7 separate regions of the Homo sapiens genome follow, and all the other regions are linked to region 2. The links are contacts of gene promoters, found by promoter capture Hi-C in human tissues and cell types (Jung and others, 2019). All regions are on one chromosome and are shown on one strand. The core of a region is centred on a gene start or on the middle of the fragment in contact, and the rest is flanking DNA. Distances in the headings are between cores, read along the strand shown. Region 1 holds the start of RAMP2 (receptor activity modifying protein 2). Region 2 overlaps BRCA1 (BRCA1 DNA repair associated). Region 3 holds the start of COA3 (cytochrome c oxidase assembly factor 3). Region 4 holds the start of AOC2 (amine oxidase copper containing 2). Region 5 holds the start of WNK4 (WNK lysine deficient protein kinase 4). Region 6 holds the start of CCR10 (C-C motif chemokine receptor 10). Region 7 holds the start of EZH1 (enhancer of zeste 1 polycomb repressive complex 2 subunit).

Region 1 (2,961 bases), core at 125-2,624, 350 kb after region 2:
AGGCCTAGGGGCAGAAGAGGACTTGAGTGAGAGAGGGGGTGGACCCAGGGAGAAGAGTGCCCCACTCTCACTCAGGGTCTACCTGCAATGAGCAGGTCCACCCCCTGGCCTGAGCCACCCTCCATCACTGCCCCTACCTGCTAATCATGGCCCAGTCGCACCAATCCTTTTCGATAGGATCCATTTGATCCTTATAATGATTCCAGCAAAATTGGACAGCTGTCTCATAGTTCTTCACCGTCCCCCCTGTAGGTACAGATGCTACACAATGACCACACCCCTACCCCTCCCTACAAACCCTCCTGCCCAGGTGCTTGCAAGGTGAACTGCCTGTCTTCAAACGTGGGAACCCTTCAGAAAGTTTCCCTAGCAAAACATTCTGGCTGAGGACAGAGTCCCAGCTCAGGAATCCTATAATGACTTCCATGTGCTAAGCACTTTCCATCCCAGCCTGATAAGAACTTCCACGTACACCTTTTCCTGGGGTCTTCTCGCCCACTTGTGAGGTGGGCAGCTCAGAGCCGTGCAGGGGCTTTGTAGGAGGACAGGGAGAAAGACCACGAGGAACCCCAAGAAAGAACAGAGGGGAGTGTAGTGGGGCATCAGCTGGGGTTGGGCAGGCCTCGTGGGAAAGGAACCCTCCCCACTGAACTTGCTCTCGTCCTTACCCTCGGCCACCCTTCCACACCCTGGGTACCCACCTTCTGACCCTGGTGTGCCTGTGGTGGGAAGAGGCTGAGCCAGGGCCTCGTGGGGATTCAGGACAGCTGTGGGAAGAAACGGGAGAGGAGGGTAACATAGCGGGGACCCCGGCAGTGGAGCCTGCGAGGGGGGTTGGGGGACTGAGACCCTCCGAAAATAGGCTACCTTGGAAGAAAAGGAGGAATAATCTAGCCCCCACGGACGCCTCAGTGCCGGGGAGGGAGGGGCTGGCACCAGCTCCTTGTCACTCACACCCAGGCCCAAAGCCCCCTCATCTCTGGCCAGCTTCCGTCCTCCTAAGCCCTCTTCGAGGGGCCGGGGCCAGCACCCCAGCTTTCCCTGGGTGGGAAGCAGCTCATGCTGCGCCCGCCCCGAGGTGGGGTCAGGGACCGTCCGAGGGCCAGTGCTGCTAGGTACGTCGGTCCTAACCCGCACCCCAGGGCCCGTTCCGGCCTCGGCCATCCAGCCCCTCTCCCCTCTCCCCTCTCCCCTCCGGGGCCTCTCGCGCCTCCCGCCCGGGCCTCGGGGCGCCGCGCTCACCGCCCAGCAGGAGGAGGAGGCGGAGCGCTGCCGGCCGCCCGACTCGGGTCCTAGGGAGACGCGGGCCGCCGGCGCGCTCCACCCGGAGCGAGGCCATCGTGCAGCAAGGAGGCGAGGAGCGGCGGCGGCGCTGAGCCGGGCCCGGGTGTGGGGGCGCCTATATCCCCAGCCCAAGCTGCAGGAAGCCGCGCCGCTTCCTCGGAGGGGCTGGGACGGCGGCGGCCACGTGGGGGGCGGGGGCGACGCTCGGGGCCCGCGGCTGGAGGGGGAGTCGCTGCCTCACCCGCGCCTGGCGCCCGCGGCTCCCTCCGCCTCGCCGGCGTTGGCCCACCCTCTCGTAGCTCACCCCGCGAGGCTGGACAGCTCCCGGAACCCCGGAACCGGGATCTATTTCGGGGGCTCGGCTGCGTGGCGCCCAGGACTCTCCAGGGTCTCCCAGGATCGCTCCCCGAATTCGAGTCGCCCCCTCTCTCTTTCGGGTCTGGAGGGGTCGGCAAGCTGCTCTCCCAGACGTGGAGAAGAGGGAGGGGGCTGGGAGCTCCAGCGGCCTCTCGACGCCGCTGCTTCTAAGGGGCTGTCCTGGGTTGTGGGGGAAGGGGCGCCTGGAGCTGAGCCATGCAGCTCAGGGTTCCTTATCCTATCCCTAGGAATACCAGCTGATGTCAGTCCGCCAGCCAAAACCAGGGAGGAGAAGCGGGAGCCAGCCCTCTGGAGTCGGGAGAAGGTCTGGGGAGTGGGGTAGAGGGGAAAGCAAAGTCCAAATACCTTCCCTTCAGACACCTCCTGGGGCCTAGACCCCACAAACCTGTTGTGGGGAGGGCAAAATACGATGACTACGTTCCCAGGAAGAAGGTGCCACAGCTCTTCAGGACCACGGTTGGGAGAAAGAATGGAGGGGTTTTAGAACCTTCAGTGTGCGACTTCATGTGCCAGGTGAGTGTAACACCATTTTACAGACCGAGAAGCTAAAGCTCAGGGCCAACAGCCCGGGATTTGAATTCAGAAGCTCTGGGTTCTAATTCTGTCTTCTTACTCCCCAGCTATAGAGCCTTGAATGACACGTTTACCTTCAGGACTTCTCATGTGAAATAGGGACATTCCCCTCCTCACTGTATGATGGCAGCTGTGAAAGGGCACTGCACTCGCTAAATGCTAGTTTCCTTTCCTCTTTTCCTAAGTGACTTATCTAAGGTCACACTGTTAAGGAAGCAGCAAGGCTGAGTCTGGGCCTCCGGGGGTCCTGACTTCAGCCACACCACAGCTGCTTCTTGTGTCCTGGGCCAGAGGTTCATTAGTCTGAAGCAGCTGAGGAGCCCAGGAGCTGGTTTGGCCATGACGTTCAAGTCCCAGACACAGCTGTCAGCACCAAACTTTCCTAAATTACTCCCAGACACTGACCCTTGGACTCAGCTGCTGCTGTTGTCCCAGTTTACTGATTCCTGCCCACCACAAATTATCTGTCCTGATCTCTCCTGAAGTCTTCATCTCAGGATCTCAAGCTCTTGGATCATGGGCACGGATAACCTGTTGTCCTCCTCTATGGTCAAGAGGCTGCTTTTGCAAAGAATCCAGTGGGAGAGAGTCAATGGCCTGCTTGACGTGAACTCCAAAGTCCTCCTGGTAAGGATCATTTCTACAATGATGCAGAAAAGAGCCATGCAGTCTCTGAGACATTTCAGGCTGGGACCAAATCTAGTCCTTCCTGCCTGCCTAGGATTG
Region 2 (3,198 bases), core at 239-2,738:
ACTTATTACACTGTTTTTACAAAGTAATCACAAACCAAACATCATGCCTCTTCTGAAGTGATCTAATAAGAGTACACAGTACCATCTGTAAAGTGTTCTTGCCAGAAAGTTGAACCTGAATGATTAAGCCTGTAAGTCTAGTTTATAGGAAATAAGGCTAGAGGAACAAGTTAAACCTCACCATAGGGTTATACAATCAGCAAAATCCAGAATGGGGGAAACTCCACAGGTCAAATGACCTAATTTTAAAAATAAATGACAAGGGAGAAAAAGTAAGAGACACCTATAGATCAGAAGACACTTGGGGCTGGGCATGGTGGCTCACACCTGTAATCCCAGCACTTTGGGAGGCCAAGGCAGGCGGATCACCTGAGGTCAGGAGTTCAAGACCAGCCGGCCAACATGGTGAAACCCCAACTCTACTAAAAATACGAAAAATCAGCCGGGCGTGGTGGCGCACGCCTGTAGTTCCAACTACCTGGGAGGCTGAGGCAGGAGAATCACTTGAACTTGGGAGGCAGAGGTTGCAGTGAGCCGAGATCGCACCATTGCATGCCAGTCTGGGCTACAAAAGCAAAACCCCATCTCAAAAAAAAGAAGACACTTGGGTTTGGGTGTGTTGGCTCATGCCTGTAAACCCCGTGCTGGGAGGATTGCTTGAGCCCAGGAGTTCAAGGCTGCAGTGAGGTATGTTTGCACCACTGCACTCCAGCCTAGGTGACAGAGTGTGACCTTATCTTAAAAGTAATAATAATTAAAATAATCTGGGGTAGGGGTGGATATGGGTGAAACAGCTTGGCCATGAGTTGATGGTTGTTGGACCAGGGTGATGGTCCATATAGTTCATTTTATTATTTTATTTACTTGAAATTTTGAAATACTTGAAATTTTCCATATTAAGTTAAAAAGGCATTTACAGTAAACAAAAAAAAGTTCTAGGAAGGAATTCAAAAGAAATATAAGCAGAAAATTTTGTCTTTATGGAGCTTAAAGATGAGATGTGCACCCACAGTGATAGTGCAGAAAAATATATCACTGGAAATGAATTCGTACGAACTATTATCAACTAATCTTTTAAATGCTGATGATAGTATAGAGTATTGAAGGGATCAATATAATTCTGTTTTGATATCTGAAAGCTCACTGAAGGTAAGGATCGTATTCTCTGCTGTATTCTCAGTTCCTGACACAGCAGACATTTAATAAATATTGAACGAACTTGAGGCCTTATGTTGACTCAGTCATAACAGCTCAAAGTTGAACTTATTCACTAAGAATAGCTTTATTTTTAAATAAATTATTGAGCCTCATTTATTTTCTTTTTCTCCCCCCCTACCCTGCTAGTCTGGAGTTGATCAAGGAACCTGTCTCCACAAAGTGTGACCACATATTTTGCAAGTAAGTTTGAATGTGTTATGTGGCTCCATTATTAGCTTTTGTTTTTGTCCTTCATAACCCAGGAAACACCTAACTTTATAGAAGCTTTACTTTCTTCAATTAAGTGAGAACGAAAAATCCAACTCCATTTCATTCTTTCTCAGAGAGTATATAGTTATCAAAAGTTGGTTGTAATCATAGTTCCTGGTAAAGTTTTGACATATATTATCTTTTTTTTTTTTTTTGAGACAAAGTCTCGCTCTGTCGCCCAGGCTGGAGTGCAGTGGCATGATCTTGGCTCACTGCAACCTCCGCCCCCCGAGTTCAAGCGATTCTTCTACCTCAGCCTCCCAGGTAGCTGGGACTACAGGCACCCGCCACCATGCTTGGCTAATTTTTGTACTTTTAGTAGAGATAAGGTTTCACCATATTGGCCAGGCTGGTCTCGAACTCCTGACCTTGTGATCCACCTGCCTCGGCCTCCCAAAGTTCTGGGATTACAGGCGTGAGCCACCACACCCGACTGACATATATTATCTATTAGGATGTAACATCATTTTGAACAGTGTTTTGTATTTTTTGTGTCCATCAGTGAAAGCAAACTGCAAGCAGTTTTGAAATAAGCACATTGTGTTTGAGCCTTCCCAGTTTCTCCTTTCTGTTCATTTCTGCATATCCTTATGCATTCCCCCTTCTAAGGGTCAGTGTTTGCCCGCTTTGTAATCATTGTGAAGACAGGAAAGGACCTGATACCAGTTTCTATTTAGGCCAAAATTCATTTATAGCAGTGATTCAAGTTATATTTACGTATTTGATGATCTTGTCTTTTGAAATGAAAATGTTTGTTTCTTAATAAAAGAATTTCAGAAAAAGTAGAGTAGGTAATTTAGTAGAACAAGTGGGCTTTCTCCTTTTCTTTATGTTAAGCTATGGCTCACATCTTACCTTAAATGTCAACTAATTTGTTTTTAAGTATTTATGTACCTGGTACATAACCTGGTACCAGGTACAAACTATGTACTTGGTAAAAAGTTTATTAGCACAAAAAGGTATATGATGCAAAGTATACTTCCCTCTTACCCTACAACCCCTGCCTCCCTGTTCCCTCCCCAGACAACCACAATGATCAATTTCTTATGTATCCTTTGAGGAATTTTTAAATTCCAGAGTTCTTAACTTGGGGTTTATGAATAGTCTTTATGAATTTCCTAGAATTATATTTAAATTGTATTCAAAACTATGGCCATGTACATTTTTCTGGGAAGATAGTCCATAATTTTCATCTGAGTGAGCTAAGATCATGCCACTGCATTCCAGCCTGGGCGACAAGAGGGAGACTCAAAAAAAAAAAAAAAAGTCCCAGTATTTACTACAGAGAGCTAAAGATTAACCTTTAAAGCCCTGGGGCTTTCAATTTATCTGGATGAGAATCTTTCTGGAATGAACTGTATGTTTTCTTGTCAGCTTGAGTAACAAATGCTGAACATACTATACTATTATTACAGGGACTCAAGGGCCCAGTGTGGTAGCTCCTGCCCATAACCCCAGCACTTTGGGAGGCCAAGGCAGGAAGATCACTTAAGGCCAGGAGTTCGAAGCTGTAGTGAGCTATGATCACACCACTGCACTCCAGCCTAGATGACAGAGTGAGACCCTGTCTTTTTTTTTTTTTGAGATGGTGTTTCACTCTATTGCCCAGGCTGGAGTGCAGTGGTGTGATCTCGGCTCACTGCAACCTCCACCTCCTGGGTTCAAGCGATTCTCCTGCCTCAGCCTCTTGAGTAGCTGGGATTACAGGCATCTGCCACCACACCCAGCTAA
Region 3 (3,143 bases), core at 210-2,709, 320 kb after region 2:
TTCTAATATCTCCCCCAAATTGCACATGGTTTGAAGGCAAGACCTCTATCTCTATTTCATCTTTCTTTTCTCTTTTTTTTTTTTTTTTTTTTTAGACAGAGTCTCGCTCTGTCACCCGTCACTCAGGCTGGAGTGTAGTGGCGCCATCTCAGCTCACTGCAAGCTCCGCCTCCCGGGTTCATGCCATTCTCCTCCCTCAGCCTCCGGAGTAGCTGGGACTACAGGCGCCCGCCACCACACCCGGCTTTTTTTTGTATTTTTAGTAGAGACGGGGTTTCACCATGTTAGCCAGGATGGTCTCGATCTCCTGACCTCGTGATCTGCCCGCCTCAGCCTCCCAAAATGCTGGGATTACAGGCGTGAGCCACCGCGCCCAGCCTTTTTTTTTTTTTTTTTTTTTTTTTTTTTTTGAGACGGAGTTTCATTCTTGTCGTCTAGGCTGAAGTGCAATGGCACGATTTCGGCTCACTGCAACTTCCGCCTCCTGGGTTCAAACAGTTCTCCTGTCTCAACCTCCCGAGTAGCTGGGATTAGAGGTGCGCGCCACCAGTCCTGGCTAATTTTTGTACTTTTAGTAGAGACAGGATTTCACCATGTTGGTCAGGCTGGTCTCGAACTCCTGACCTCAGGTGAACCTCCCACCTCAGCCTCCCAAAGTGCTGGGATTACAGGTGTAAGCCACCATGCCTGGCCCTCTATTTCATCTTTCTAGCCAAGCGGTGCCACTCAAGTATTCCATACATGTCGAAGAAATCAAGGGGAGGGCACTGTTGTGACTTATCCATCACTATATCCCCAGCACCCCACAGAGAGGTGTTAGCAAACATTCTCTGAATGAATAAAATCAACGGAATCTCAAGGTCGGTGCCTGAAAGACACAAGCCCCAGTCTCCCAAGAACCCAGCACCCCGGCCCTGCAGCCGCACCCACGATCTGGGGCTCCCTGAAGCGGCCCAGCCGCCCCGAAGCCTCCCTCACTGCTTGCTCATTCTGCTGGGCCAAGTGAAGCAGGGCGTCTTCAATCGTCTCTGTGGCGACAACTCCAAACTGAAAGTCAACGAGGGAGGCCGATCGTGGCCTCATGGGTCCGTCCATATTCACGAGCCTCTTGGGGCACCTGGACGGGTTCACTGGATCCACATACCGACCCCCTTAGCTCCTCTCCAGTCTTCTGCCACACCCTGGATTCCTCGTCCCCTTCCAATGAGTGTGTCGTCGCCTCAAGTCTGAGGAAAACCCAATTACCACCACAGCCTCGAACCCTCCACAGCTTTTTCCCGCCCCAACGGCCACGGACTCCTCAGCCAATCAGAAAGCACGTCCGCTTCTCACCTCCCGCGTCCATCCCCTGTGCCCGGGAACCGCGGCTCTGCCCCGCAAAGGGCACGCGGACTACAACTCCCAGAGTCCACTGCAGCGGCCAAGGGCTACTGTTCCCAGCGAGGCCCGCGCGGCGGCACCGCGAAGGGAGGAGTGGCAACATGGCGTCTTCGGGAGCTGGTGACCCTCTGGATTCTAAGCGTGGAGAGGCCCCGTTCGCTCAGCGTATCGACCCGACTCGGGAGAAGCTGACACCCGAGCAACTGCATTCCATGCGGCAGGCGGAGCTTGCCCAGTGGCAGAAGGTCCTACCACGGCGGCGAACCCGGAACATCGTGACCGGCCTAGGCATCGGGGCCCTGGTGTTGGCTATTTGTATCCGTCCGTGTTGTAGACTCAAGGGGACCGCATATAGGGGCAGGGGAACAGAGTGTGCAAGAGGGCTGAACCACCCGTTTAATTTTGGGGTAAAATGGGTAGTACTTTCCTTTGTTATTCCTAAGGTACTCTTTTAATTTGATTTATTAATAATAACGGAATTGGGGTTCAGGGTTTAGAAACAGCAGCGGCGGGAAGCCGGAATCACTGATTTGGGAGAGTAACAAGAGTGGTAGAGCAAATCTAGGAAAGGGGAATGTGCATATTCTGTGTGGTTTCCTGAACCTACCTCCCCAGATGGTTACACCTTCTACTCGATTTCCCAGGAGCGTTTCCTAGATGAGCTAGAAGACGAGGCCAAAGCTGCCCGAGCCCGAGCTCTGGCAAGGGCGTCAGGGTCCTAATCTGGATGGGTATTGATCATGTCCAACCTGCTGGAGCCCCTTCACATGGTGGATGATGCCCCATGACCCTGTAGAAATTGAATCCTGCTCACAACATTGTTGGCCTTCTTACTAACCTTGGACCGTGATTGAGCCCAAGAAACCAGGGACTTACGCATTTGGCCAATGTCAAAAGAACAGAACTTTGCCCACTGCACACTTGCTGTGTACAATGACTGAGCCCTTTCTTGTAGTTTGTTTCCTTGTTTGAGAGGTGTGCATGCGACCGTGGCTTTTCCCAAAGTTTCTGACTTTGTGGTTTACCCCCTTCACCTTCCAGGGACGCAGTTGTTACGAGGTTAGACGTGGCAGCTCTGTGCAGTGTTTGAGCCTACAGTGGGATACATAGGGTCAAATTGAGAATAATAAACTGAGTCATTCTCCTGGAGTCAAGTGAGTATGGAGGCTGAGAGGCAGCATATGGCACTTCATGCTGGAAAGCTTCACAAGCAGTAGCTGCAGTGGTGGCATTGCCCCAGGGAGCTGTAAATGTTTAACTAGAATTACTTTTTCCATGAGATCTTTCCACCTGATTTAAGGGAGAGATCACTGGGCAGTTTGAGACTGAACCCACGTCTTAGGGGAAGGAAGGTCACTCTTCTGTCCTCTACCCACAAGAACATACTGTAACTCTACTGCTTTTCCCATCCCCAGAGAGAGGGAGGGAGAGAGAGGTGGATGAAGGGTGAAAGACAAGCAGTCTTCATTCTTTTAACTTTCCCTGGTACCTGCCTATACAGGTCTAGGGTGGGGTCTGGAGGGGATCCTAACTTAGTCAAGTGGATCACTGACCTTGCAGTTTCCTCATTAACTGATGGCAGGAAGCCAGAGGGCTGGGCAGCTTCCACCCCTGCCTCCCATTGTGAAAAGAAAGTCCCTTTTAAATCCTCCCCTGCCTCACCCCACAAGTCTTTGCTCCCCCAATTCCTAAGGCATGGCATATGGATTCACGGCGTTCTTGTTTCCAGCATTTTTATTGGTTGCTGCTAATGTGGTGTGAGC
Region 4 (2,858 bases), core at 187-2,686, 270 kb after region 2:
GCCCACAGATGACACAGACCTGACCACAAGGGCTGAGCTGGCCAAACCACCATAGAAATGATTTTGAAGGTAATTGTGGTGCCTTCGAAGGGGCAGTCCCTGGGCTTCCTCAAATACACACACAGCCCCTGGAAGCAGCTGGACTGCCCCTTTGCCCACTAATATATGGATGTCCACCATCGTGGCTTGATAGGGGCAGTCCACTCCCCGCACCAAGCCTCGGCTGTTACGGCCGAGTCCAAAGCTGCTATCCAAATAGCGAGTCAGCATCGTCTTGGGTGAATCGGCACCATAGATAGATACACACTCCTGGACACTGACTTCATAGGCTATTCGCTCACCCTGGAACCGAACATCAAAAATCCTCAGGCCGCTGAACACCCCATGGCCAAAGGTAAATGACCAGAGGGAGGATACCACCAGGTTTCCTTGCACACTGTACTGGGAACCCTGGGGCGAGAACTGAAGAGGGGGAAGAGGACCTGGAGAGTTCCGAGACCTCAGGGATGAAGCTCCATTTGGTGGAGGTAGAGGGACTCTAACCACTTCCAACCGGCCAGACTTAAACTCCCGTTCCAACTGGCCCAAGTCTGCATAGTAGTGCCCAAGGTAGAAGACCTGCTGGACAGTCCAGTGGGCAGGGTCCAGGGCCCTGTGGTCCAGTAGTAGCTCCAGCCCCACGGGGTGAAGGAAAAGACCAACCCCTGAGATGTTATGGTAGAGGGCCATCCAGGTAGCTCGGTCCCCTGAGCGCAAGCCCCGAGGGGTGGCATGCACAGCTGCCAGGGTAGAGCCATTGTAGTTGAAGGTGGACGACAGGAAGATGGGTGCCTTGGGTAGCTCCACCTCTTTCAGATGCCTCCACATCTGTGTAAACTCAGCTCTCAGCACCGGGCGACGGTGATAGGGCAGGGGCCCGCCGTGACGCTCCACAGTCACATCCCGCATGTACGAGGGGTGAGGCAGCGGCCCCACCACCAGCTCACTCACATTGGGTTGGGGTTGTCCACCAAAGAGGACGATGGCCAGTGCCTCCCGGGCAGGTGGGGGGCTCCCCCTGTCCAGGTGGGCCAGGGCTGCAGCCTTGGGGGGCAGCTGCAGCTCCACTGAGAAGATGCAGTTGTCCGAGGGCTGAGCCTGGGCTGCGTCCACCAGCCCTGGCCCCAGCCGCTGGGTCAGAAAGCGCATCACAGCTGTCAACTCCTCTCGGCTCAGGTCTGCAAACAGCTGGCTCTGGCCAGGGTGTGGCCAGGGCTGGGCCCTATGGGATACAGAGGGGCAGTGGGGAGGCTGGCTGGAACCACCTGGGCTGGTCAGCAAAACATAGGCCAGGGCAAAGATGGTAATGAGGGACAGTGCCAGGAACGCCAGGACTATCTTGAGATGCATGGTGGATGCTGAGAGCTGAAATCAGAATTCTAACAGCTGCTCCTTCCAGTTACTGACATCAAGTCGGGGTTTATATTCGCTAGGATGGATAGGAAGGGAGAAAACTCCACCCCATGGGTTGGGCAGGAAATTTCTGACCTTGATTTATGTAATTCTGTTCCAATTTTCTGTCCTGTGGTTTGGCCCAGGGCACTGCTTCCACATGCATAGCCTCTTCCTTGCCCCTGAACTCCCACTGGTAGCAGTCAGTACCAACTACTGATTTCCATCATTTAGACCAGATGAAAGGGAATCTGGGTTAACGATGCTAACCTCCAGTTTCCACCTGGAATGGGTCTCAGGAAGAGTACAAACCTCAGATGCCCAATTAAGTTCTGCAGCCTGCATGCAAGCACTAAGCTGTCCATTTTCCTACCTCCTGGCAGGAACTGCATCCCAACAGCTCCAGGATTCACTGCCATGTTCAGCAGTAAGCACTGAATTCTACTTGTTGCCTAATGCCAAGCCCTTGATTTGTAGTCAGGCCATTTCCAACCAGTGGAGTGGCTGAGGGCCTGGGCTTAGTAATCAGGTTTGTCCACCAATCCCAGTTCCCTCAGCTGTGTAACCTTAGCGGAAATACTTATCCTGAGTCTCAGTGTCCTCATCTGTAACAAATAGATACAACTATCCTATAGATTCCTGAAGATTAAATGTGATCATGCACATTAGGTACTTAACAGCCTGGCACAGGGGAGGCACTCACAAACCGCTAGCTTTTGGTAGTCATCTCTGAAACAGAACAGAGCAGCTGCTCCTCCATTGTTCAAGACCTTAAACTCTTTTTACAGAGACAACGAGGGGATCATTGGAAACCAGAAGGCTACTTGCAAGGTGGAAGATGAGGAAACTTTATTTCAGAGGGAGATAGATTCCTAGGCAGCCCTCCAAGTAATTTGAAAACCAAAACTAGGAGTCTCCTCAAGAAACTGAAGACATTATTCAGGAAGAATTAGTATAAGGTAAAGAAAATGACTGGGTAGGACGCGCCTTGAACCAGTTCATTCCTTACACATGGAACGATAGCAGCCTCTACTGGCAGTTCATGGGTATCACTCGGGAAGGAAGGAACTAGGATCTTCTGAAAGTAGGGAGAGAAGGCAGCTTAGGTCTGGGAAGAGCTAACTTTCCCATAATTCAGACTGAACACAAATGAAGCACCCAACCTTGCTCAGTAGGCAGAAGCCTCAGTCTTTCCACTATACTGGGGAAAAGATTCAGCTCAACTGGCATAAGGACACACAACAGGGTGGCTAGGTGTCCATGGAGGTGGGTGTCCAAGCGTGCACACATATGAGCATGAGTACATCCCTAGCCACCAGAGCATTGCACCAGGGTCTGCGGCTTTAGAAAGAGGTCAAAGTACCTGTATTTTTAATAATTTCTTGACATGGTAAAAGAATTTTACATTACGATCCATGGGTGATAGG
Region 5 (2,893 bases), core at 91-2,590, 340 kb after region 2:
CAGGTAGGCAGTGGGATGAGGAGCAGAACTGGACTCACTCGAGAGCTGGAGCTCCCTATGTCCCCCTCCTCGCAGCTGTGGAGAAGTCCAGAAGTCTGACTGCTCCAGAAGGGGTTAGGGGGCCCTATTCTGCCACAACTGCCCTAAATCTTCTGGAGTTGGAGATGACCCTTGCCCAGCTCCTGGCTTCCCGCATCCCAGCCTCCTGGTCTGCAAATAGGTGGGGGACGGGAGGAGTGAGGGGATCAAGAGGACCAGGGTCATAACTGAGGATCTCAGGACTTAGGGGAGAGGAAGGGATTGCGGGTACCCACCAGCAGGAAACTGACCTGAACTGGCTCCCCTGCCTAACTTCCCATCCTATTTTCCACCTCTCAGGGTTGAGTATGGAGACTTTAAAGTGAGAATGTTCATACCCATGGGGGAGTCACCAGACACCACCTGCCTCAATCTCTCCTTCTGCAGCCCAGAGTCAGCCAGATCATTCAGGGCAAAGACAGCAGAGGTGTCTATAGACATTTGACTGGAAAAATACATGCTTCCCTTGATGCTGTCTCCCCCACCCTCTGTCTGTCATCCTAAGACCTCCAGAGTCCCATCCCAAGGTGCCACCGAGGGGGCTCCCAGCCGCACCTGCAGCTCACACCAGGCCACCTCCACTGTGGTGTCGGTGTCTAGCCCTCGATACACCGTCTTGAAGGAGCCACGTCCAATCTCGATGTCAAACTTGAGGTATCGGCCATCGGGGGACGTTGCCACAGCCTGGGTCTCCATGTCCTCCTTTTCTTCCTGCTCCCGCCGCCGCTCTAGGGCCACAGCTTCAGGGACCCTTAGCGGCTCCCTGGACCCCGGGCCCACTGCAGAGTCCGGGAGCTCGGGACGCGCGGAGTCTTCCGCAGCCTTCACAGGGGCTCCCTCGGTCCACGTGCCCTCGGGGGGTTCTTTGGAGCTAGGCGGTGGGCTCCTCGCGGGGCCAGGACCAGCGGAGTCCGGAGGATCGGGGGGGTCCGGAGCGGGTGAGGCTGGCAGGGACCAAGAGCTCAGCAGCCCCAAGTCGACTGAGCTACGGCGGCTGAGACGAGAAGAGCGCGGCCGGGGCTCAGCCTTCCCGGAGAAGCGGCGCGCTCGGCGAGGAGGGGGCCCGAGGCGGGGCTGCCCCGCGGTGCCAAGAGGAGGCGGGGGCCGCAGGGCCAGGTCGGCCTCAGTCTGGGACATGAGGACGGTGGTCTCCGTGGCCGGGGATGCCAACATGAGGAAGAGCAGGGCGCCGAAGGGTAGAAAATCAGACGGCCGGAGAGGAGGCGGCCTGACAGACGGACTCGCTGGGTGCGCTGCGCTCCGGCTGAGCGGCTGCGGCCCCAGCCCCCAGCTCGGCCTGGCCCCGCCCCCGTCGCCGCCCCGCGGCCCGCCCTTGCCCCCCAGGGCCGCCCCTCCGAGCTGCTCCCGCGGTGCGGATCCCGCGAGCAGCCCCTCACCTTAGTCACCGCCCCGCCCAGCCGCGTCCCCTTCTTTCCCGAGCCCCCGGCCGCAGTCTCACTCTGAGGCCAGAACTGAGTGGGAGACCGCGGAGCATCCTCCCGCACTAAGAGTGAGCAAACCTGTTTGTGCGCGGAGGAGGGCAGGAGAGAACGACACCCGGACCCTAGTGGGGGATTACTTAGGGGGAGGCTACCACCCTCCTGCACACCCCAGATAAGGCAGCACCACCCCCTCCTAACTGTCCGGAGTAGCCCCAGGCCGAACGGAGAGGTCAGTGGAAAGGTCTGACGTTGTTGTCCCTCTGGTCTGCATAGGGAATGGGTGTGTACTCCCCAGGATAAGTCCCTCCCCCAAACCGAGAGCCCGGTCATCCATCCCCTCCAGGCCACCTTGGCCGCAGCCTAACCCTGGCCAGAGTGGCTGTTTTTGCTATATGGGCTCTCCTTCCTCCCCTTCTGTTTGCCAGTCTCCAATAAACCAAAGTCCACATCCGGCTTACCCCCCTCAGCTCCCCTTGGCCACAGTTACCCCACCCAGACCAGATGGGTGGAGGGAGGGGCTTCAGAGTAGTTCAGGACTTCCATGAGGGAGATGGTGAGGGAAGGGGGAGCCCTTAAGTGACTCCAATTCAGAGAGAAAGCAGTCTGTCCCCAAGCTGTGTTCCATCAGCACTCCTCCACACAGCCCACCCAGCAGATGTAAAACCACAGGCTCACTGGAGCCCACAGGGCCCTGGAGGACCTTTTCTTCTACAAAAGCCATAAGCTTTCTTTTCTCTCCCCTCTCCCAGGCTGGGATTTACTCAGGTGGCAACACTTCACAGCCCTCCCCATCCCCATTCCAGTACTGTAGTAATTTAAGAGGCAGGCAGTGGGAGTTGAGATTTTAATATCATAAATCGGTGTGGGGCCACACCTCTCACTGCCAGGCCCGTGGGCCTCCTATCTTCATATTGCCTGGAAGGCTGCCTGCAGCCAGGGCTTCCCCCATCCCCTAGGAAGGATCCAGCACCAGCCTGAGAAGGGAGGCAACAGCAGCTAAAGGGGTGGGAGGAGGAGGAGACAGAAGCATGTGCTGCAGGCGCATGTGTGTATGTACTTACATGTGTGAACACATATAAAGTGTCAGGTTTACAGACCCTGGCTCAAGGACAGTCTAGGATGGGAAAGGAGGTAGGGCGAGAAGAAGCACATATTTTCTCCCTGGTGCTTCAGCCTCACCCTATCCAAGGGACAGACATATGGGGTGTGAGAAACCCATCCCCAGGTCCCAGCCTTCAGGACTGGAGTCCTTTTGAGTCTGGTGGAGTCACAGATCCAGTCTTTGGGGGACACTGGGTCTGTCTCCTTTTGAAAGCCCTGGAAAGGTGGGAGGTAAGAAGTAAAGGGAGACAGGTCCCTGCTAGAAGAACTTG
Region 6 (3,167 bases), core at 403-2,902, 430 kb after region 2:
TCAACCCAAGACACCAATCCAGCTCCAACCCTAGCCTCAATCCAACTCGGCCCCCAAAACCTGCACCATCCCCAAATACAGGCCTTGCACCCAACCTCAGCCAGTGCTAGCACCATCACCAGCTCCATGTCCAGCCTTAGCATCAGTCAGGGGCACCAGCTCCTGCTTGGATCCCTGCCACAAAACCCAGCCCCAGCCACAAACCCCAGCCCTAGCCACAAACCCCACCCCTTGGCCAGCTCCAAAGTCCAGCCTTAAGCCCTGGCAAAACCTTAATCCTAGTATCGGTCACCAGTATACACTTATCCCCCAGCCCTAGCCTCAAACCCAGGCACCAGCTCCTGCTTGGATCCCAACCCCAAATCCCTGCCCGCTGACTTCATCCTCTTCCCAGAGCCCAGCCCCAGCCCCGGGCGCGCGCGGCAGCCTCAGAGCTGCAATGCGGAGCGCGGGGGAGAGGCAGGAAAAGATGAGAGCCAGCGGGCGCGCGCCGGCCGGGAAGGACCCGCGACCACCCAGCCGCAATGCGGTTCGGGGCCGCCCTGCAGGCTCTGGACTCCTGGGCCCAACCCCACCTGCCTCCAAGCCCAACACTCACAGTAGCCCCAGCCCTCGGCTCCTGAGACCGCGGCGAGCAGGATGCAGAAGAGCCGGAGATGCATCATGCAGGGCTGACGGTCCCGGCAGCCGCCTCCCTGTGAACGGCTCCGGCTAGGGCTCGAGTTCTGGCTTGGGCTCCAAGCTCTCCTCCTGGGGTTTGCAGCAGACCGCTCTCTCCTCCTTACCCACCCTTCCCTCCCTCTCTCCTTTCGCCCCCAAGCGCTCTGTCTCTCCTCTCTCTTTTCTCTCTCTCTCTCTCTGGTTCCTGGTCCTCCGCTCTTCTCTCTCTATCCTCTCCTTTCCACCCTCTTTCCTCTCACCTCCCCCCTTCCCCAGCCTCTGTCTCCTGGCACGCGCCGGTTTCCCGGACCCCGCGCAAGCGCGTGCCTCAGCCCTGCTGCGAAAGGGCGGGGGTAGAGAGCCTCTCGCCACCGGGAAAACCCCAAGTAACCCGAGGCTGCCCGGGACTAGGGCCACAGGAGTGAGGACAGGGAACCTAGGGCCAGAAGCATCCTGAAAATTTCAAGAAAAGGGAGGTGGTTTGGGGGAGGGGTGCCTGGAAATGGAATGAAGGGTAAGTAAAAGAATCTTAACATTTTCGGAAGGCAAATTATGCTCTAGGAGTGGTGCTGGGCACTGTGAATTTAGCATTTTTGCCCTACTCCACTTTGCAGATGAAAAACCTCAGGCTCAGAGAGGTCAAGAAACTTAGTCAATATCACACAGCAAATGATTATATTCCGAAGCCCGTTCTTTCTTCACTGACAAAGACAGTAAATTATTTTTTCTTTCTTTCGTTCATTCTTTTTTCTTTCTTTCCTTCCTTTTTTTCTTTCTTTCTTTCTTTCTTTCCTCTTTCCTTCCTTTCTTCTTCTTTTTTTTTTTTTCGTAAAATCCAGATCCTGCACAAGAGAGTGAAGTCTTTTGGAGGAGGTGGAATGGGAAAGTGACCCCGTAGACCCTAATCCCCACCTCCCTCTCGGCCCCTCTCCCCGCCTCTTCCTTCCTGTCCCGCTAGTAGTTTAACTTCTACCCCCTGTGGCTATACCTCAGAAACCTGTGTAGCCAGAGATGGGGACGGAGGCCACAGAGCAGGTGGGAGTGGGGGCAGGGAGGGGGAGAAGGGTTACAGAGAGGGAGGAGACAGGGAAGGAATGGGATTCCCCACCTGGCAATGGGCCTCTGCCATCCTATGGCTTATTCAGGATTCTTGGCGCTGTCTCAGACTAGGGGTCCTCCAGATAAATGGGCTGGTGGTGTGAGGCTGGGGTTGTGGGACAGGGACTAGGGCTGAGGGGAAAGGCGGGTTGAACCTAGAGGTCCAGGGTCCCACCTGGGCCCTGAAAACCTGAGTCCCAACCCTGGAGACCCCCTTGGCATGAGTGGTTCAGTGTGCTGGTATTGGAGGTACAGGGAAGGTGGGTATGGAAGGGAAAGAAGAGAAACAGAAACCCACTCCAGACGGAGGTTGGAGTCCAGGGCTCAGGTCTGAGGCAAAGCCTGCATATGGGCATCCTTCCAGGAGAGGGCGCTGCAAAGGGAACTGAAGCTGTAGGATTTATTAATAATACAAACTTTGGGCTGGGCGTGGTAGCTCAGGCCTGTAATCCCAGTACTTTGGGAGGCCAAGGTGGGCGGATCACCTGAGGTCAGGAGTTCGAGACCATCCTGGCCAACATGGTGAAACCCCATCTCTACTAAAAATACAAAAATTAGCTGGGCGTGGTGGTGGGCGCCTGTAGTCCCAGCTACTTGGGAGGCTGAGGCAGGAGAATCTCTTGAACCCGGAGGCGGAGGTTGCAGTGAGCCGAGATCGTGCCACTGCACTCCAGCCTGGGCGACAGAGCAAGACTCTGTCTCCAATAATAATAATAATAAATAATAATAATAATACAAACTTTGTATTATGGCCTTTGGAGAACACAGGTTCTCCCCATCCATTATTTTCCATATTGCCATCTTCACAGCAAACCTTGAGAGGTGGGCTGGTCAGGATTTATAATCTCAACATTACAGGTTAGGTAACTGAGGTCTAGAAAGAGCAAGTGGCTTGCTCAAGGTCACCCAGGAAGCTGGAAGCAGAGGTAGGAGGGGTGCAAGGGAAGCCAAGGCCTGCTGAAGGTGTGCTAGGAAGAGTCTGGAGAAGAGCTTATGTCTCCCCGTGTACTGTTACATCTGGCCACACAGGAGCTCTCAGCTTGGAAGGCAAGTGTGGGCGGGGGAGTTGTGTGGTCAGATGTGTCTCATAAGATCCCGCCTCTCATTTGACCCTCCCAGGTTTCCTGGGGCCATTACTCTGGGGATGAAGAGGACGCATACTCGGCTGAGCCACTGCCGGAGCTTTGCTACAAGGCCGATGTCCAGGCCTTCAGCCGGGCCTTCCAACCCAGTGTCTCCCTGACCGTGGCTGCGCTGGGTCTGGCCGGCAATGGCCTGGTCCTGGCCACCCACCTGGCAGCCCGACGCGCAGCGCGCTCGCCCACCTCTGCCCACCTGCTCCAGCTGGCCCTGGCCGACCTCTTGCTGGCCCTGACTCTGCCCTTCGCGGCAGCAGGGGCTCTTCAGGG
Region 7 (3,072 bases), core at 298-2,797, 370 kb after region 2:
GTCTTTCATGATCTTGACACTTGAAGATACTGGCCAGTTATTTTGTAGATTGTCTCTCATTTTGGATTTGTCTGATGTTTCCTCATAATTAAATTCAGCTTATGCAGGCTGGGCATTGTGGCTCATGCCTGTAATCCCAGCACTGGGAGGCAGAGGTGGGGGGATCACCTGAGTCAGCAGTTCGAGACCAGCCTGGACAACATGGTGAAACCCCATCTCTACTAAAATTACAAAATTTGCCGGGTATAGTAGTGCATGCCTGTAAACCCAGCTACTTGGGAGGCTGAGGCAGGAGAATCGCTTGAACCCAGGAGGCAGAGATTGCAGTGAGCCGAGATTGCACCATTGCACTCCAGCCTAGGCAACAAGAGTGAAACTGTCTCAAAACAAACAAACAAACAACACGCACAAAAAATCAGCTTATGCGTGTTCGTCAAGAATACCACAGAAGTGATTTTGTGCGCTTCTCATTGCATCATGTTCAGAGGGACCTGGTAAGAATACCTCTCAGCTGGGGGCAATGGCTCATGCCTGTAATCCCAACACTTTGGGAAATCAAGGTGGGAGGATGGCTTGAACCCTGGAGTTCAAGACCAGCCTAGGCAACACAGCAAGACCCTGTCTCCTTAAAAAGAAGAGGGAGGCCGGGCGTGGTGGCTCATGCCGGTAATCTCAGCACTTTGGGAGGCCGAGGTAGGCAGATCACTTGAGGTCAGGAGTTTGACAGCAGCCTGGCCAATACGGTGAAACCCCATCTCTACTAAAAATACAAAAATTAGCCGGGCGTGGTGGCACGAACCTGTATTCCTGGCTACTTGGGAGGCTGAGGCGGGAGAATTGCTTGAGCCCGGGAGGGAGAGGTTGCAGTGAGCCGAGATCGCGCCACGGCACTCCAGCCTGTGTAAGTAACAAAGCGAGACTCCGTCCAGCCTCGCCCCCCGGCAAAAAAAGAAGAAGAAAACAATACCTCTTATCACTAGTGATGCTAACTTTGATCACTTAGTTAAGGTGGTGTCTGACAGATTCTTATCTGTAAAGTTGCTATTTTTTTCCCTTTGTAACTAGCAGGTGTCTTGTGGGGATTTATTTCGATACAAGGCTATAATTTTGATTCTAAGTGACTAGAAAACTATGAACAGAAATAGGGAGATCAGACATAAATAAAGGGCTTAGAACCCATAGACCGGTGTCTGGAGAACTGGTAGGGGTGAAGCATCGGTATGAAGGTGATCTGGGTTGGCTTCAAACGCTGAAGTGAGATGTGGCTTGTCACCAGCGCGTGGGGATGGCAAATCCGCTGAATAGGGTCTTCAGGAAGATATTAGTGGCTCTGCGAAGGTTTCCCCAGAGCCCTTCCCCTCCCCTGCCAGCGCCGCTTTGGAAGCCGTCTGGGAGGCTGCACCCGCCAGGACTCCTGAGTGCGGGGTTTTGGCGGCAAATGACAGTAGTGCGTCCGCGCGGCACGGGTAAGTCAATGCGCACGCGCCGACAGGAGGCGCGGGGCGGGGCACGGCGCAGGGGTGGGGCCGCGGCGCGCATGCGTCCTAGCAGCGGGACCCGCGGCTCGGGATGGAGGGTGAGTGAGTAAACAAGCCTGGGCCGGGCGGTGGGGCCGGGCCTCCTCCCCTCGCCGCCCTGGGCCTGAGGGAGGGAGAGGCGGAGGGATCAGGAAATTGGAAGGAATCCGAGGGACACACTGCCTGCCTGGCCGGGGGTAGCAGGCGCCCCTCCTCATTCCGAGGGTGGGGGAATGGGGGCGACGGGGCGAGAGAGACCCAGGCGAGGACAGCGTCTGGGGCTGCGAGGGCTGTGTGCCCGGGAGGAGGAGCGGCGGGGGCGGGCTCGGGGACGGGGAATCCCGTTGGATGGCGGTGTGGGCCGGTGGGCGGGAGCCCCAGCGCCCAAAGGGCGCGGGAGGGCGGTGGCACCTGCGGGGGCCTTTAGCGAGGTGGACTCTGGGGACCTGGAGCTGTGCTTGGGGAGGGCTAGAGACCGGGGCTGATCTTGCGATGGCTTTCGGGGATGTTGAGGAGGGGTAGCAGTAAAAACAAGGCCGGGACTAGGGTGAGGTGAGTAAGGCTCCCAAGGCACAAAGTGTAAAGGAGCACTGACTCAGGGTCGCGCAAGTGCAGTGAGCGCCTCCTCACGTGCGTCCTGGGTGCCTCGGTCGCCTCACCCCAGGCCTGGCCCTGAGCAAGAATCTCCTTCACTCCAGACTTTTGGTCTCACGCCAATGATCGCTCACCCCCACCATTCAACCGAGGATCAAATGATATAAATAAAAGTGCCTTGAAGCACAGACAAGGTGTTGTATTTGGGACATGCCTGTTAGGAAATGTGGGACAAACTTTTATTTCAATAAAAAGTGACTACTGAGGAATTGTTTCTTGAGCAGGGAAGGGAAGGGATACCTGAAGGATGTTAGTGCCCCCCGTGGAATGTGAAGGAATATGGAGGGTGAAATACAGGGTTGTATGTGATGTAGCCCAGGCCGATAGGAACCTGACGCTTGGCAGGGGAGGATGAAAGCAAAGGAGCTCAGGTACACTAACAATTAGGTGGGTGCAAGGATGGCAATGAAAACGCGAGTCTCCTCCACGTTTGCTGCCATACTGCCGCTGAATAAAAAAATTCCCACACCCCATGTTTTTTAAATTTAGGAAACTGATATTGAAGGAGGTTTCCAGCCTGAGAAGGTGCTAACCCTATTAGAGGTTTCTGTGAAAGCTTGTCTATTTTAAGTCTTGGAATCCCCAGATATGCCACTGATAAAAGAGATTACTTACATAGGAGAGAGTGTGTGTTAGGAGATAAGTACTTTAGACTGGGCTCGGTGGCTCATATCTGAAATCCCAGCATTCGGGAGGCCCAGGCAGGAGAATAGCTTGAGCCCAGGAGTTTGGGACCAGCTCAGGCAACAATAGCGAGACCTCATCTCTACAAAAAAAAAATAGCCAGATGTGGTGGCCTTCTCCTATAGTCCCAGCTGCTTGGGAGGCTGAAGCAGGAGTATTGCTTGAGACTGGGAGGTCAAGGTTGCAATGAGCTCTGATCCTGCCACTGCACTCCAGT

The links. Contacts are between HindIII fragments. The study calls those that stand out against the background at their distance.
Region 1: the fragment with the promoter of RAMP2 here is called in contact with a fragment that was not itself captured in region 2 in 3 of the 25 tissues and cell types used here (aorta, dorsolateral prefrontal cortex and hippocampus).
Region 3: the fragment with the promoter of COA3 here is called in contact with a fragment that was not itself captured in region 2 in 2 of the 25 tissues and cell types used here (adrenal gland and lymphoblastoid cells).
Region 4: the fragment with the promoter of AOC2 here is called in contact with a fragment that was not itself captured in region 2 in 6 of the 25 tissues and cell types used here (H1 embryonic stem cells, dorsolateral prefrontal cortex, heart left ventricle and 3 more).
Region 5: the fragment with the promoter of WNK4 here is called in contact with a fragment that was not itself captured in region 2 in 1 of the 25 tissues and cell types used here (lymphoblastoid cells).
Region 6: a contact is called between the fragment with the promoter of CCR10 here and a fragment that was not itself captured in region 2, in 2 of the 25 tissues and cell types used here (lymphoblastoid cells and mesendoderm cells).
Region 7: a contact is called between the fragment with the promoter of EZH1 here and a fragment that was not itself captured in region 2, in 1 of the 25 tissues and cell types used here (adrenal gland).

What each region holds. Positions count from the first base shown.
Region 1 is chr17:42,759,640-42,762,600 of GRCh38, reverse strand. It overlaps RAMP2 (receptor activity modifying protein 2), which reads right to left and starts at 1,374. Exons shown (of 4, transcript NM_005854.3): 1 at 1,243-1,374; 2 at 702-767; 3 at 138-246; 4 at 1-4. The coding sequence starts at 1,339. RAMP2-AS1 (RAMP2 antisense RNA 1) reads left to right here and starts at 1,344. Exons shown (of 6, transcript NR_024462.1): 1 at 1,344-1,721; 2 at 1,890-1,966; 3 at 2,088-2,175; 4 at 2,721-2,862. RefSeq lists a silencer at 1,171-1,260. The HindIII fragment of the contact is 24,962 bases long and covers 1-2,961 here.
Region 2 is chr17:43,113,926-43,117,123 of GRCh38, reverse strand. BRCA1 (BRCA1 DNA repair associated) reads left to right here. Exons shown (of 23, transcript NM_007294.4): 3 at 1,345-1,398. Among named protein-coding and RNA genes, the nearest start is that of BRCA1, 9.8 kb to the left of the region's middle. The HindIII fragment of the contact is 5,789 bases long and covers 1-3,198 here.
Region 3 is chr17:42,797,020-42,800,162 of GRCh38, reverse strand. COA3 (cytochrome c oxidase assembly factor 3) reads left to right here and starts at 1,459. Exons shown (of 2, transcript NM_001040431.3): 1 at 1,459-1,695; 2 at 1,996-2,538. The coding sequence starts at 1,482. The coding sequence ends at 2,102. It overlaps CNTD1 (cyclin N-terminal domain containing 1), which reads right to left and starts at 1,302. Exons shown (of 7, transcript NM_173478.3): 1 at 927-1,302. The coding sequence starts at 1,095. WNK4 (WNK lysine deficient protein kinase 4) reads right to left here. Exons shown (of 19, transcript NM_032387.5): 19 at 3,097-3,143. RefSeq lists enhancers at 1,447-1,496, 1,517-1,566, 1,707-1,776. The HindIII fragment of the contact is 12,523 bases long and covers 1-3,143 here.
Region 4 is chr17:42,843,158-42,846,015 of GRCh38, reverse strand. It overlaps AOC2 (amine oxidase copper containing 2), which reads right to left and starts at 1,436. Exons shown (of 4, transcript NM_009590.4): 1 at 1-1,436. The coding sequence starts at 1,389. It overlaps PSME3 (proteasome activator subunit 3), which reads right to left. Exons shown (of 11, transcript NM_005789.4): 11 at 2,256-2,858. The HindIII fragment of the contact is 18,620 bases long and covers 1-2,858 here.
Region 5 is chr17:42,779,057-42,781,949 of GRCh38, reverse strand. It overlaps WNK4 (WNK lysine deficient protein kinase 4), which reads right to left and starts at 1,340. Exons shown (of 19, transcript NM_032387.5): 1 at 634-1,340. The coding sequence starts at 1,251. VPS25 (vacuolar protein sorting 25 homolog) reads right to left here. Exons shown (of 6, transcript NM_032353.4): 6 at 2,351-2,893. The coding sequence ends at 2,881. RefSeq lists an enhancer at 310-1,267. The HindIII fragment of the contact is 5,514 bases long and covers 1-2,893 here.
Region 6 is chr17:42,680,328-42,683,494 of GRCh38, reverse strand. It overlaps CCR10 (C-C motif chemokine receptor 10), which reads left to right and starts at 1,652. Exons shown (of 2, transcript NM_016602.3): 1 at 1,652-1,695; 2 at 2,878-3,167. The coding sequence starts at 1,672. It overlaps CNTNAP1 (contactin associated protein 1), which reads right to left and starts at 964. Exons shown (of 24, transcript NM_003632.3): 1 at 599-964. The coding sequence starts at 665. RefSeq lists enhancers at 510-559, 820-869, 813-1,431, 2,650-3,167 and a silencer at 1,970-2,264. The HindIII fragment of the contact is 6,302 bases long and covers 1-3,167 here.
Region 7 is chr17:42,743,515-42,746,586 of GRCh38, reverse strand. It overlaps EZH1 (enhancer of zeste 1 polycomb repressive complex 2 subunit), which reads left to right and starts at 1,547. Exons shown (of 21, transcript NM_001991.5): 1 at 1,547-1,576. RefSeq lists a silencer at 1,390-1,969. The HindIII fragment of the contact is 12,026 bases long and covers 1-3,072 here.